Regions from separate parts of the Homo sapiens genome. Here region 1 is linked to region 2. Evidence: promoter capture Hi-C in 16 types of primary human blood cells and fetal thymus (Javierre and others, 2016). All regions are on one chromosome and are shown on one strand. Each heading gives the region's core, a stretch centred on a gene start or on the middle of the fragment in contact. The rest is flanking DNA. Distances are from core to core; before and after follow the strand shown. Region 1 has its middle 18 kb from the start of C1S. Region 2 holds the start of C1R (complement C1r).

Evidence for each region. Contacts are between HindIII fragments. The CHiCAGO score rates a contact against its expected background, and 5 or more counts as called.
Region 1: a fragment that was not itself captured here is called in contact with the fragment with the promoter of C1R in region 2 in 9 of 17 cell types (megakaryocytes, M2 macrophages, M0 macrophages and 6 more); the score reaches 9.0 in megakaryocytes.

The regions. Positions count from the first base shown.
Region 1 is chr12:7,040,315-7,044,885 of GRCh38, reverse strand. It overlaps the pseudogene LOC100419825. Among named protein-coding and RNA genes, the nearest start is that of C1S, 18 kb to the left of the region's middle. The HindIII fragment of the contact is 6,449 bases long and covers 33-4,571 here.
Region 2 is chr12:7,088,892-7,093,751 of GRCh38, reverse strand. It overlaps C1R (complement C1r), which reads left to right and starts at 1,307. Exons shown (of 11, transcript NM_001733.7): 1 at 1,307-1,365; 2 at 2,072-2,300; 3 at 3,504-3,696; 4 at 4,019-4,165; 5 at 4,263-4,459; 6 at 4,766-4,860. The coding sequence starts at 1,364. RefSeq lists an enhancer at 965-1,259. The HindIII fragment of the contact is 12,054 bases long and covers 1-3,991 here.

The DNA of each region.
Region 1 (4,571 bases), core at 2,008-4,507, 51 kb after region 2:
AATATTCCTACAAGATTGTTATGAAAAAAGCTTCTATTGAAGACACCATATGAAAAAATAAATGACTCTGCCAAGGTCAATAGTGAGAAGAAAAAATAAATGATATTTCCCTTCACTTAATCACATTATCTGCCTGGCCTCTGTAGGCCCCAAAGTAGAGTAGGAGCTCGTTATAGAATAGGGGTGGGGTGGGTGGGGAGAGGGGCCAGTGAGAGAGTCCTGGGGAATAGCAGAATTTACAGGCAGGTGCAGGAGCCGGAAAAGGAGCCTGAGAAACAGCACAGCAGTAGGAGAAAAATCAAGAGCAAGTCACACCAGCAAAGCTGAAGAAGACAGAGATTAAGGATGAGCAGTTCCCATAAAAGATGGTACAGTAAAGGCATGTTTACTCATTCCTTTCCTGAATATACCAAAATTAACAGTAAAATGAGTAGTAGAAAAGAAGCTCTTATCTGCAATGAAAATAGAAAATGGCTACAGCCCAGATAATTGACCATAAGAAATATCTGCCAAGTGTAATGAAAATTGGAACCAAAACAAGGAAGGTCACCTGGAGCAGATCCCTTACAATTCTTAAAAGAATTAAGAATCCTTGAAAACTAGGGGCTTGGGAGGGTCATGGAAGAAGCAGAGAACACCCCTCAACAAGACCCCAGTGTGCACAGCAGCAGGGAGGCAGGGCTGATGACAGACCAGTGTGGATGCCTCCTTTATTTTCCCCATTCCAGAGTGGAGAGAATTGCCTGGAGGGAGGCAAAGGGAGGAGGGTGGGCCCACACAACCAATTTTATCGCTGTTGAGTCAGTGAAATACAAGTAATTAAACATGAAATATCTGAATGAAATCTACCTGTAAGCCCTGACAGCCACAGGGAGCTGAGGTGCTTTTCCAAAAGTGGCGTGGAGGAAGAGGGATGCAAAAAAGAGGGAGAGAGAAGTAATCGAGCAGAGGAAATGTCAACTTGGTTCTTGGTTAGATACAACATGAGGGAGTCAGAACTGCCAATTCCCTCTAAAAAAAAAAATCCCCTATCCCTTCCCTCAAATTATTTGAGAGCTAAGTTGCAAAATAAGCAAACAAATCTGAATTAATACATATGAACAAAAACCACTCCCCAATGAAAAGGGAAAAATAATAGCAAACAAAAGACAGATGATCAAAAACCACTTCAGAAAAAGTTACCCCAGCATTCTCTGTAGAATTCCAAATAAATTATGTAGCTGTCCCATCGTAAAGGACGGGGAGCAGAACTCCCCACTCCTTAAGCATGGGCTGCTTATAGTGACTTCCTTCCTAAGACTGCAGTATGGAAGGGACAGGGAGCAAATTTACAGGGGGGAAATCTGATAAACACTACCTTGGGCAGGTGATCAAAGTCAGCATCAACAGTCATAAATCATGCTAATATGGCCAGCTGCGGTGGCTCACACCTGTAATCCCAACACTTTGGGAGGCCTAGGAGGGTGGATCACGAGGTCAGGAGTTGGAGACCAGCCTGGCCAACCTGGTGAAACCCTGTCTCTACTAAAAACAATACAAAAAAAATTAGCTGGGTGTAGTGGCAGACACCTGTAATCCCAGCTGCTCAGGAGCCTGAGGCAGGAGAATCGTTTGAACCCAGGAGACAGGGGTTGCAGTGAGCCAAGATCGCACCATTGCACTCCAGCCTGGGCGACAGGGTGAGACTCCATTTCAAAAAATAAAAATTAAAAAATAAATAAATAATGGTAATACAATGAGACGAGAATGGCACTTACCTCTGAGATCTTCCTCCCCAAAAGCCATAATCCCTGTATAATCATGAGAAAAACATCTGACAAATTCCAGTAGGGGGCATCCTATAATACTCTTTCCCAGTACTCCTCAAAACTTCGAGGTCATCATAATCAAGGAAGGTCTGAGAAAGTGTAACAGCCAGGAGGAGCCTAGGAGACATGAAAACTAAACGTAATGTGGTATTCTGGAGGAGGCCCTGGAACAGGAAAACGACATTAGGTAAAAACTAAGGGAATCTGAATAAATTATGGACATTAGTTAATAGTAATGTATCAACATCACTTCCATGATTGTAACAAATGTTCCACCCTAATGTAGACATTAATAATGGGGAAACCGTGTAGGAGCTGTATGGGAATTCTCTGTACTATACGCTCAATTTTTCTGTAAATCTAAAACTGCCCTATAAAAATAAAGTCTATTTTTAGAAAGTTATTCCAGCAAGCAGAAGAAAGATGTCAGACATATTTTTTCTATACTCACAAAAGTTAAAGCATGGACTTTTTCAAAAAAAAGATACAAGGGAGAATAACAGATGCATATTTTTAGAGAGAAAAAAGTGATGTGGTAGAACTTAACTGAGAAATTGGAAATAACAGGAAAGCCACCACAAAAATGAAAAGTTCATTATAGAAACAGCAAGAAGTCAAATACATACTATGAAAACATAGATAGTACATGGAGGCCAGTCTTGAAAAAAATCACCCAAAACAAAATGGAAAAGTGCAAAGGGATAAAATCGCAGAGACGCTGATGAAAATGGATCAAGGAGATACATGATTGGTGTTTTGAGAAAAGAATATAACAACTGGAATGGGAAAGTATTCAAAGATATGGTTGAGTATGGGCATGGTGGCTCACGCCTGTAATCCCAGCTCTTTGGGAGGCCAAAGCAGGCAGATTACCTGAGGTCAGGAGTTCAAGATCAGCCTGGCCAACATGGTGAAACCCCATCTCTACTAAAAATACAAAAATTAGCCAGGTGTGGTGGTGCACACCTGTAATCCCAGCTACTCCAGAGGCTGAGACAGGAGAATCGCTTGAACTTGGGAGGCGGAGGTTGCAGTGAGCTGAGATCACGCCACTGCACTCCAGCCTGGGTGACAGAATGAGACTCTGTCACCAAAAAAAAGTATATATATATATTTATATATTTTTATATATATGGTTGAAGATTTCTGTCAAATAAATGAACTGAAATCTTTAGATAAAAGGGCACTCTTACAGGAAAATAATGACAAAGAATCATTAACACTGAAGCCAATCCTGGAGATCCTAAATGACAAGGATAATGTAAAGAATATGGGACAGTGGTTTCCTTCCCCAAGAGTGTGCAGATGCTTGGGTGCAAAGGCCTATTTCTCTTCAGCCCCAGTTCACCCCACAGACCGAGGGCGGGCCTCGCCATCAGGACCCAGTGGCCATGTCCTGATGCAAGCTGCGACGGTCATTGTCCTCCAGAACAGGGATGGAGAAAATACCAGCCCAGGAAGCAGCAGGCTCACCAAGGGTCCGATTTCAGTTTTTGGAGACCCAGTCTGAGAGTCTGACTCCAAAGCCTCATTTTGTGCAGGACACCGACATGGAACAGGGACTCACTAGGGTTCCACCTGTTCCCCAGGTGCCTGCCTTTCCCCATGAGGACAGCCCAGGAGATCAGGCAGCTGCGCTCCTGACAGCCAGGTATCAGCAGTTTGTGACATCTGAGGATGTGGCTGTGCACCTTACTCAAGAGGAATGGAGATACCTGGACCTTGTTCAGAGGGAACTCTACAGAGATGTGAGGTTAGAGAATTATGGGAATGTGGTCCCACCAGGCATACTTCTCCCCCTTCCACCAGATTCATAGTGTGAATTTTTGCCCGGCCCTGAGTCATACCCAGGCAAGTGCTTTCTCTGGAGAAACTTAGTCCTTACAGCAGGAATCTCCAAGAGATGGCCCAAGTATTACCTGCTCAGAAACTCCTTTTCCATGATTGCCAGATATTAAACTTAACTGATGCGATAGATGCCCCCTAGGATGCCACCACTATGTAAAATCGCAGCTCCTCGAATTACCTTTGTTAAATTTCTAGTATCAGAGTCCAAGGAAGCCCCCTGCTGCAACCAGATGCACTTTGAACTCAGTTTATTCAGAAACCATGGTTGGTGGTCATCTTCTACTTGTGTTCTGAGAAACCACAAAATTCAACTTCAGCTCTTCAGTTATGATATTGTCATATTATTTTAGAATGTGAAACATATGCCGTGTGCCCCTCCTTTTATGTAGTGAATACAACCTGCCCCTTATGGTGGTTAACTCCCTGTCACCCCTGGGCTTTCCTCACGTTTAACACTCTGGTTTTCTCCTTCCTGAAGTCCCTGTGGCCCTCTTCAGGGTCCTACCCTCCTCCCCTTTATTCTTTGCAGTTCTGTACAGATTGATGCACTTATATTGCCTTTTCTGATTAAATGTTCCTTAGTCTTTCCTTGATGGAGGGGAGAAGGGAGGACAAAGAAGTTAAATTTTATTTTGGGGCATCAAAACAAATGTCTACTTAGTAACTTTGTAAACTGTAAAGTGATATATATAATTGTGAAGTACTATTAATTTTACCTAATAATTACAGAGTGTTCAACAGTTTAAAAAAAAAAAAAAGAATGCTGGCCAGGTGCAGTGGGTCACGCCTGTAATCCCAGCACTTTGGGAGGCTGAGGCAGGAGGATGGCTTGAGACCAGGAATTCAAGACCAACCTGAGCAACATAATGAGACACTGTCTCTATAAAAAAAAAAGAATAATGTTATAGAAAACCA
Region 2 (4,860 bases), core at 58-2,557:
TGTGCCTGCTGTCTAACTACTGATGATGTGGTCACTGCCTGATGGGGAACTGCATCAGCTCTGTGAATTCTTGCAATCTATTGCCTGGGAAAGTGTCTTGCACATTAAACAGGTAGCCCATAAATGGATGAACGGGGGTGGGGGCAGAAGGGTGGAGGTTGGAGGGATTCATCTAATAAGGGAAACAAGCAGAACAGCCTACAAAGGCTTAAGAACGCAGAGTCCTGCTCTGCAGCCCAAGCCCCTCCGTGGGATGAAGTGCCATCAGATATTTGGTGCCATGGAGAGTTGATGAAGAAAGCCTTCCAAAAACAATGAAATTGTTTTTTAATTTATTTTAACTTTTAGAGACGAGATCTCACTATGTTGCCCAGGCTGGTTTCGAACTCCTGGGCTCAAGAGATCTTCCCACCCTGGCCTCGAAAAGTGCTGGCATCACAGGCATGAGCCACCACACGTGGCCAAGAGCAAAAGTTTTAAAGCAGGACACTATGGCCTGATGGACAGGAGAGACTAGGGTCCCTCCTCCCTCCCAGGGGCCTGGCTTCATCTCAGAAAAACCGAGTCCCTCTTGCTCCACACCCGCATCCTTAGCTTCAGCCCTGGCAGTTGTGTTGAGCAGATGCTAAGGAGATGGGGACATTTTACCCCCTCCGCAGCCGCCCCAGAGGGTCTCAAACCCAGGGCTGATTTAGGGTTGCCCTGACATGGCCAACCCTATTCTATGTCCAAGTGTCATTCATGGCTAAAGCAGGCCAGGGCCCCAAGGCAACCAAGCTCCTCTCTCCTCTGCCCGCTCCCACACACCCTCCTCTGCCCCAGTGTTCCTATCATTACGTCCTGGGCATTGAAACCCGGGCCATTCTTGGACCAGGGCTGTGGGCTGAATGAGGGCAGGAAGAACAGGGTCAATGGGAAAGGACAGCCCAGAAAAGAGAATTCACCACCACCTGTGGTCTCCCACTGCTTTGGTAGGAACCTTGTAAACACAGCAGCAGCCCCCAGGAAAGTCTTGGAAGAAGGGAGAAGCTGATCAGATTTAGAGACTGAGACATCTGGGCCTCCAACCCAAGGCTCCCCGGGCCCTAAAAAGCCAGACTCCCGTCTCCTTAGCCCTTTCCCTCACCGACCAGCAGGTGGCACCACAAACAGGGATTTCAAAACCAAAACTAAATTAAAGTGGAAACTCAGATCTTTTGTTTATGCAAATAGTTCATTCCCTCCAACATTCCTCCGGGAATGGTCCCCCCTCCACTCCACAGAAAACCCTCCCCTCCCTGCTGTGCATGACGCGGGCTCCCTCTGCACACAGTGCACGAAGACGCTGTCGGGAGAGCCCAGGATTCAACACGGGCCTTGAGAAATGTGAGTAAGGGTGATGGGCAACCAGGTGGGAGGGAGAAGCCAGGGGAGAAGCCAGGGCATGGGAGGCAATTCAGGGAGACAGGAACACCCTTCTCTCTTCACACACCTCATCAGTTCCACTGTGCACACGCGTGGACACACACAACACACGCCCCATCCCTCCTCCTAGGGATCAGAGGAGACTTCATACATAGATGCTCATGCCATGGTCCTTTCTTCCCTCTGGGCTCTTGGCAGGGAGCAGCGAGAGGAGGGGACCCCTTGCCCAGGACGGGACACTCTGTGCCTGTGTCCCCCACTCCACAGATGGTTTCTCCCAGACGCTCTTGCTGAACCTGTGGGAGCCCTTTCAGAGACCCACGGGTGGAAACCCTCACCCTCCATTAACTGGTCCCAAGCCAGTCCTATTCCTGGAAGGGGAGGGGAGGGACGCGTCCGGGCAGGGGAGGAGGCTGGAAAGGGAGTGTGAGGGGAGTGTGGTGGCCTCTGGACTGGACACTGCCCTGGAGAGTGACCCGATGCAGCAGCTGCACAGGCCATCCTCCCCACCCACGCACCCCTGCTGAGAACATGTCTGTGAGGTTCAGGGTGGGCAGAGAGGAGAATGCCCAGTGGTATGGCCGTCTCATCCCCTGCCACAGCCACTGCCCACATGGCAAGAGTGCTGAACCCCTCCAGCTCCAGATACTCTCTTTTGTTTTGGCAGGTGGCTCTTGTACCTCCTGGTGCCGGCCCTGTTCTGCAGGGCAGGAGGCTCCATTCCCATCCCTCAGAAGTTATTTGGGGAGGTGACTTCCCCTCTGTTCCCCAAGCCTTACCCCAACAACTTTGAAACAACCACTGTGATCACAGTCCCCACGGGATACAGGGTGAAGCTCGTCTTCCAGCAGTTTGACCTGGAGCCTTCTGAAGGCTGCTTCTATGATTATGTCAAGGTAGGGGCAGGATGGGCGGGCAGAGGGGAGACAAAACTGGGCCCTCTGGGATCTGGGATCTGTATGGCATGCACACCCCCAGACACAGCCCAGCCCCACAAGAGCTGATGGCCAACGGCCTCTCTGAGAGCCCGGGGATGCCCTGGATGGGCGCTCACTGGTGTAGAGGCCCTCGGTGAGCACTGAGGGGAGAAGCACAGAGAAGGAAGGGGACAGGACCCACTCAGGAAATTCAACATCCACTGAGTCAGGAAAACCTTCCCCATCTGCTGTCTAGCTGAGAGTCTTTGGGAAACCACTGTGCCTCAGCTTCCCTGTCTCCAAGGAAATGATTGACATGGCTGCCTGCTTCAACAGGAACACAGGGACATGAGGAGGAGAAATGTGGGCTCTGGCAGCACAGGAATAGCCTTCAGCAAGGACAGTGTGCTCAGAACCCTCACCTCTGTGGCAACCAAGGGTACCTTCCCAGGCCTGTCTTTCTCTATCCAGTAAAAATGAGATTCAGGGCTCAAGCAGAGCCTGCGAAGGTCCAACAACTACCATTCCCAGGAGACCCCTGGAGATTATGCGTGAATTACATGACAATGGCACGTCTTACCGGCTCAGAAGACTTGGCGAGTGTGCAGTGTTGGGGGAGGGCGTTTGCTGGCAGAGTCAAGGAGAGGTTGAGGAGGCTGTGAGGAGGAAGGAAGAGGGACGAGGCAGTGCCTGCTGACACTGAGATGGGTGGGCTTCAGGGCTCATGTTCCGCCGAGGGCATCAGGAGGCACTCGAGGTGTGAATGGTTTGATTAGGCTGAGGTGGAATCTGAAGACAGAAAATAAAGCGGAGCTGTCTGAGCTCTGGGAATGAGGGGCAGGTAAAGGCTGGGTACAGACAACCAGGACCCCAGGGGAACAGGCCATAGGAGGTGGTGGGGATGGAGAAGGACCTGAAACCTGCCAGAGGAGCAGAAAACAGGGAAAGGGTGAGGTACCCAGTCCAGGACAACACGCAAAGAGTGAGTCAGTGGGAGACTCAGGGAACAGCTGAAAGTCACATGGGGAAGTTTGCAGCAGCTGAGCCCAGCAGGTAGTGACCAGCCAGAGCCATTGTGGTGCATGATGCACTCTGGGCGAGACAAGGAGGACCATCACTGAGCCACCACGTGCGCCACTCCGCAACAGATCTTCTTCCTACCCCCTGTCCTTCTTCCACCAGATCTCTGCTGATAAGAAAAGCCTGGGGAGGTTCTGTGGGCAACTGGGTTCTCCACTGGGCAACCCCCCGGGAAAGAAGGAATTTATGTCCCAAGGGAACAAGATGCTGCTGACCTTCCACACAGACTTCTCCAACGAGGAGAATGGGACCATCATGTTCTACAAGGGCTTCCTGGCCTACTACCAAGCTGTGGGTGAGTAGCCCCCCAGGGATCCCTTTTCTCTGACCTCAGCCATATTGAATGGGGGGCCAAGAAAGGGAATCTTGAATGCAAAGAAGCCGAAAGCCTGGCTTTCCTTGTTCCTCCCCTCGAGAGAGCTTTTCCTAACGAGGCCTGTCAACCTGGGCTCTGTCCCCATGGAGCAGTCCCCAGAGAGCATTGGAGAGGCCTGGAGGTCCAGGTGGCCTAAAGATGCCTTTGTCTTTAGGTCTCTGGTGAGTGACCTCCCTAAGATCAGAGCCACTACTCAGGTCTCCCAGCAGAAGCTTAACCCTCCTTCCTGAATGCCTTCCAGACCTTGATGAATGTGCTTCCCGGAGCAAATCAGGGGAGGAGGATCCCCAGCCCCAGTGCCAGCACCTGTGTCACAACTACGTTGGAGGCTACTTCTGTTCCTGCCGTCCAGGCTATGAGCTTCAGGAAGACAGGCATTCCTGCCAGGGTGAGCCAGAGTGGTGTAGCAGAGGGGAAGGGGTTGAGCCAGGGCTTGCTGGGCCAGCTGGAGTCCCCCGTAATGCCCTGTGGCTCTGCTCTCACAGCTGAGTGCAGCAGCGAGCTGTACACGGAGGCATCAGGCTACATCTCCAGCCTGGAGTACCCTCGGTCCTACCCCCCTGACCTGCGCTGCAACTACAGCATCCGGGTGGAGCGGGGCCTCACCCTGCACCTCAAGTTCCTGGAGCCTTTTGATATTGATGACCACCAGCAAGTACACTGCCCCTATGACCAGCTACAGGTACAGCCGTCCTACCCCTGAAAGACCCCTTCCTCCCCTTCTGTCTGCACTTGGCTCCTCTTGTCCCAACTTCCTCCTGGATCCCCTGGCCAGCTGGGGCAGGAACGGCCAACATCACCCATGGGCTGGGTAAGTTCCCACACAACTAGAATTGGGTCATGGGGATCCCTTTTCACCTTCCCCTGAAAACACACATAAGGCAGGATTTCATCACCACCACCACCACCCTGGCCACCAGGCTACTACCCAGTTGGCCCTGTGTAAAAACGTCCAAGCTGAAAAAAAAAAACCCTCCTCCCCTACTAGATCTATGCCAACGGGAAGAACATTGGCGAGTTCTGTGGGAAGCAAAGGCCCCCCGACCTCGACACCAGCAGCAATGCTGTGGATCTGCTGTTCTT